Regions from separate parts of the Homo sapiens genome. Here region 2 is linked to region 1. Evidence: promoter capture Hi-C in human tissues and cell types (Jung and others, 2019). All regions are on one chromosome and are shown on one strand. The core of a region is centred on a gene start or on the middle of the fragment in contact, and the rest is flanking DNA. Distances in the headings are between cores, read along the strand shown.

Region 1 (3,086 bases), core at 169-2,668:
GGGTGAAAAAAGTGAAACTCCGTCTCAAAAAAAAAAAAAAAAAAAGTTCAGGTTTTCACTACAATAGGCTTCTAGGCAGGACAGCATGGTGTGTGAGGGCACCAGCTCCAGAATCTAGAATCGGTCTGCCTGGGTTTGCTTCTTGGCTTCACCACTTTACTAGCTGTATGATCTTGGGGCATGTGATTCAACTTTTTCTAGCCCAAGTTTTCTTACCTGTAAAATAAGGATAATAGTAATAGCCATCGCATAGGGCTGAGGTGAGGATCAAATGGCTTAGTGCATGTAAGCACGGTGCCTGACACTGCAGAAACTACTCAACAAATATCAGTTATTGTTATCTGTCTGGCATTGGAGGCGGCTGAGTTTTCCCACCCTTATGTAACTGATGTTTGTTGATGCTAGCTGCTAGAAAGCTCTTAATGAATTTGTGGCTCCCCCTCAGCAAGCATACTGAACCTAAGATATACATACGTACCAACTTTATCACCTTTCTCCATCCTTGTTTCTTGGAAAGCCCGTTAAACTCTTATAGTGCCTACTTGTCTTTACTTCTGTAGTTCCGTCTTCAGTAATGACTCCACCCCACCTCAATCTTACTAATTCCTCAAGACCCAATACAAACGTCAGCCTTCCTGTAAAACCTTCCCTTATGGCACCATTAAGAATGCATAGCTTCCTTCTCGGTGTTCCAGTAACACTTTCCCCTTGTATGGCCCTCACCACCATGCATGACTTGACTAATTCATCACGTACATCAACTCCTAAAGGACAGGGTCCTGTGTTAGTCATCTTCGTACTATCACTTTCCTGCCCCTTCTCCTGGCCAAAGACCAGGCACATAGCCATGATCCACAAACGATGTAACGACATAAATTGATTGAGCAACAGCAACAGAACGAAACTCTCTGATCTAGCCTTAATACTGAAGCGGCCTTAACCCCTGGGAAACTACTAAGGTAAATATCACTTAAACAGCATCCAAGAAACGGCAAAAAGTTAAACGGAGCCCTAAGTCCCACGGAGGGAAGTGACCATCTGTTTTGGGGAGGGTCTGGGAAGCTATAGGCGCTGGCGTACTCCGCAGCCCTGGCCGGGCCGACCTGGGGTCTCCCACTCGTGCAGGCCCAACTAGGGCTGGACAGGCATTGGGGGGTGCACGCTCCAGCCCGCAGGCCCCCTGAGGCCTAAGCAGGCTCCGCGCCGTGACTCAGCCCCTGGCGCCCGCCAACAGCCAGCCGGCCTCTCCTCACCTTGGCTAGCTTCGCACACTCGGGTAGGCGCTGATCCACCGTGGCGCTGTAGTCCACCTCCATCTTGACGATGCGCCCGTCAGCCCGCTCCGAGCCGCCGTCCGCCATGGTCCCCGCCTGAGCGTCCCTTGCTGTCCCCCTGCTTCGGCCACCACTCGTCACCCACACCGGAAGTTGCCCGCGCACCCGCTCAGGCAGCCCATCGGGAGCCCACGCAAAGGACCCCTCGAGGTCCCCGGCGCTGGTTGCCACTCAGGCACTGCCGCGGACAGCCTGGGGGTGGGGCTTGAGGCGCGCGGGGCGGGACTCGCCACTCCAGCCTGCAGCGTCAGGTTTTGTCTCTGGGAACATCAGACTTTTTACCTAAAATTTGCGATGAGAAAAGCGAGTGTAATAGAACAGACCATCTCATATATCCCTACACCCCTGCTTCGAAATATGATTTCTCAGGACCGTGGCCAGTCGCTTTTCTTGGATCTCGGTTTTCTCATCTCTACATCAGGAGGCTAAAATAAACCTTAAAATAGAAAATTCTAAGGTTTTATCTACTTGAGAATCTTGGTGGCTTACTCTGTGGGATCTCTGAAAGCTCCTAAGAGAAGATATGGCAGCAGCTCAGTCATTTAATAAGCAAAGTGGTTTTTCTCTTTGTTTTCATTTTCACTGTAATCCACTAAGTTGGTAAAAAGAAAAGTTAAAAAGACATATTTGTTATCCCTATAGGATTTTCGTGAGCATCAAACTAGATGACATGTGAGACAATTTCAATTCTTAAGGGCCTTACACGTTTTATGTGTTATCATTCATACCATGCTGGTCCCTAGAAAATAGCTTGAGATCTTAAAAAAGCTTAGGATCCTTGAAAATGGGAATGAGGCCGGGCGCGGTGGCTCACGCCTGTAATCCCAGCCCTTTGGGAGGCTGAGGCGGGCGGATCATGAGGTCAGGAGATCGAGACCATCGTGGCTAACACGGTGAAACCCCGTCTCTACTAAAAATACAAAAAATTAGCCGGGCGTGGTGGCGGGCACCTGTAGTCCCAACTACTCGGGAGGCTGAGGCAGGAGAATGGCGTGAACCCAGGAGGCGAAGCTTGCAGTGAGCCGGCGAGATTGCGCCACTGCACTCCAGCCTGGGCGACAGAGCAAGACTCCGTCTCAAAAAAAAAAAAAAAAAAGAAAAAGAAAAGTAAAGAAAATGGGAATGAGGTTGTGTTTGGTGTGGGCATATGGTCAACAGCAGCCTGGAAAGCAAACAGGAAAACGGGAAATCTTGGAGTGGTTTATCTATTATGTTAGTGGTTCTCAATTTAATTAGTGCCGACATCGCTTTATAGATGCTGAATAGATCTCTTTGTTTGTTTTAACTGCAATGAAAATCAGGGAAAATATAAACCATCTACAAGCAAAATAAGACAATATCTCAGCTATAATCTGTAATGTAGAGGAGAAACAAATTTTACCTTTTTTTTATTTTTGTAGAGATAGCAGCTATACTACGTAGCCCAGGCTGGTCTCAAACACCTGGCCTCAAGCAGTCCTCTCACCTTGGCCTCCTAAAGTGCTGAGATTACAGGTGTGAGCCACTGTGCCCAACCAAGAAACAAATTTTAAAATAGCAAAATAATATATATTTCAAGAGATAAGGGCTAAAACATGTCTACAGTGGAAAATACAAGGAAGTAGTTATTTACACCCATACACAATAACTATAAATGTAAAAGCTGCAACTGCAACAGGTGTGTTCTCTTGGTTCCTGAAGCATGGTAAGGGCCTATTGTTGGTGACATTTTCCAAAATGGTGAGCAACAAGCCACTTCTTGGTAAAGCTCTT
Region 2 (3,085 bases), core at 85-2,584, 230 kb before region 1:
AGAAATCCCATCTCTTCCTAAAACACAAAACATTAGCTGGGCGTGGTGGCGCATGCCTGTAATCCCAGCTACTCGGGAGGCTGAGGTAGGAGAATCACTTGAACCCAAGAGGCAGAGGTTGCGGTGAGCCGAGACTGCACCATTGCATTCCAGCCTGGGCAACAAGAGTGAAACTCTGTCTCAAAAAAAAAAAAAGATACTCTCCCCTCTCCAATTTGTCATTAGTGACTACAAATGCATGGCAATATATTTTTAAAGTATGAAATTAAAGATGTTACAACAGAATTGTTTACAGATAAATAAGTTACAGACCCTTCAAGCTTTGTTTTTTAAAAAAGAAATTTTTTTTTCATAAATTAAAACTCTACTTGATTCCTTTGATGATAGCTTTCCCCTATAAAGGATATTAACTTTTTGAGGGGTCTTAAATTCTAATATATGAAACTTATTCTTAAAGGTCCCAAATAGTCTCCCTTCCCAGAATTTTTCTTCCTGCTAGAACACAAAAATAGATAATAAAGTGCTGTCATTATCTATATTGTAAGAAAAAAAAACCTGATTTAAAGAGTGCCATGTCCTAATAGTTTTGTCTACTTTAATTCTAACATATCAAAAAGAAATAATTACCCAAGGCAGATTCAGGACTACCTACATCTCTTTTTACTATTCTGAACTTCCTATGACAGGTACTAGCACACTTATAAAATTTTAAGTAATCCCTAGTGTATTTCTTTCTTTTTCACAAAAGAATATTATAAATAACTGTTCGACTGCTTTTTTTTTTTTTAATGCTAGCACAGTTCTTCAACACTCAAAAGGCCAAATCTTCTATTACTGGCTTTGTACAGTTAAAATTCCAATTAACTGGTATAAGTCACAAGTGTATAAAGAAAGATTTTGGTGTGTAGGTTGATATTTTAACCATATTTAGTAGAAACTGTTCCTTAAAACTAAAGTCTAATGAATACTAATAATGCTACCGAAAGACAAGTAATGACCACGTCTAACCCCCTAATGTTAAGATCTTCTGGATTAACCAGATACAAAGAATTATCTACATTGAGAAGCCTTGAGAGAGCAAGACTACAGAAGGAAATTCATCAAAAATTAGAACAATTAAGTGAAAAAGTGAGGCACTAAGGGATATAAAAGTTAATATCCATCAAAGACAAACACATGCATGAAACCAGCTCAGGACCCCTGCTCTAGTTGTTGCTTCTTCCTGGAGCACTTTTAACCCAAATAGCTTCTCCCTCACTTCCAAGTCAGCTTCTCAGTGAGGTCTGCTCTCACCACGCTATTTACAATCACAAGCTAGTCTGCACCGTCCTCATCATTCCTAATTCCTCTTAATATTTTCCTTTCCATTCAACTTACCATGTAAAATACTATATAATATTCCTATTTAGTTTACGGTAATCTTCCTCTCCTTACCAGTAAAAAGTAAGCCCCACCAATAAAATGTAAGCCCCACAAGGGCAGAGATCTTTGTCTATTTTGTTCACTCATGTATCTTCAGAAGCTGGAAGAGTGCTTAGAACCTAGAAGTCACTCAGGAAATATCTCTTGAATAATGGCTCAATGAATACACAATTATGCATACAATAAATAGATCCAAAGTAATATGCTTTTGTGTTCCCACTGGATATCAGGCTACAATAAACCTGTTTTTAATTAGCCAGAAGGTCATATGAATAAATATACACATAGGGATACAAATCATGTCACATTTCCCCTTTAATGTCTCAACATTAACACATAATTACCTGCATCTTCCAATAGAGCACAGAGCAATGGGATCACCCACCACAGCAACCAGGGATTGTGCTCTTGTGATGGCAGTATTGAGAAGCTTGTAGTTAGATAAAAAACCATAATCTAAGTCCTCTGTGGAATCTTCCAGAAGTTGCTCTTTCTTTTTAATTGGTGTCTGTTTATGTTTACAAGTATGTCTTGTACGTACTGTGCTAAGAAACAAAACTCTGAATTGCTTTCCTACAAAGAAAATTTTTTAAGAAAAGACTTAAGATTGTCATTCTGAACCACTGATATAATAAAAGCATTGCATTTTTTAAAATGTTATTGCTAAATAACAAACATTGGCGAAGATGTGGAGAAACTGAAACCCTTATGCACTGCTGGTGAGAATGTCCAATGGTACAGCTGCTGTGGAAAACAGTGTGGCAGTTCTTCAAAAATTTAGGCAGAGAACTACCATATGATCCAGCAATTCCATGCTTACATACATACTCAAAAGAACTGAAAGGAGTGACTCAAACAGATATCTGTATATCCACGTTCATAGCAGCATTATTCACAATAGCCAAAAGGTGGAAGCAACACGAGTATCCCTGGACAGAGGAATGGATCAACAGAATGTGGCATATACATACAATAGATTATTCAGCCTTATAAAGGCATGAAATTCTGACACATCTTACAACATGGATGAACCTTGAAGGCATTATGCTAAGTGAAATAAACCAGTCAGGAAAGGACAAATACTATATAATTCCATTTATATGAGGTAGCTAGAACAGTCAAATTCATAGAGAAAGAATGTAGAAGGGTGACTGCCAGGAGGGAAGGAGGAATGGGGGCATTTAATGCATACAGAGTTTCAGTTTGGAAAGATCAAAAAAGTTCTGGAGATGAATGGTGATGACTGTTGCACAATAACGTAAATGAACTTAATGCCACAGAACTTATGTGCATAAAAATGGTTAAAATGGTCAATTTTACATCATACGCATTTTACCACCATAAAAAAATTTTTTTTAATGATACTATTGGAACCAACCTTAAAATTATCTAGTCCCAGGTTCCACCCAATACAAGGACCCTTTGTTGAAGCAGTCATCCAGTCTCTGGCCAACGAGGGCACGCACAGCTGATTTCATAAAGAAGTCTACAGAAAGTCTAGGTGTATATCATTTTTTCTTACGTGCTTCAAATAGTAACATATCTATTCCCTCACCCTATGACAAATCTCAATACAATGCTGATGTCAATCTTTAGTCTTCTCCTCTCCAGGCCAAACAATCCTAGTTTTCTCATGGCAGTGTCTTGATCATTCACTACCCTA

What was found. Contacts are between HindIII fragments. The study calls those that stand out against the background at their distance.
Region 2: a fragment that was not itself captured here is called in contact with the fragment with the promoter of PSMD12 in region 1 in 1 of the 25 tissues and cell types used here (hippocampus).

The regions. Positions count from the first base shown.
Region 1 is chr17:67,365,159-67,368,244 of GRCh38, forward strand. PSMD12 (proteasome 26S subunit, non-ATPase 12) reads right to left here and starts at 1,419. Exons shown (of 11, transcript NM_002816.5): 1 at 1,254-1,419. The coding sequence starts at 1,361. RefSeq lists enhancers at 1,235-1,294, 1,315-1,624. The HindIII fragment of the contact is 13,722 bases long and covers 1-3,086 here.
Region 2 is chr17:67,134,204-67,137,288 of GRCh38, forward strand. HELZ (helicase with zinc finger) reads right to left here. Exons shown (of 33, transcript NM_014877.4): 23 at 1,767-1,995. Among named protein-coding and RNA genes, the nearest start is that of CACNG1, 91 kb to the left of the region's middle. The HindIII fragment of the contact is 3,510 bases long and covers 1-3,085 here.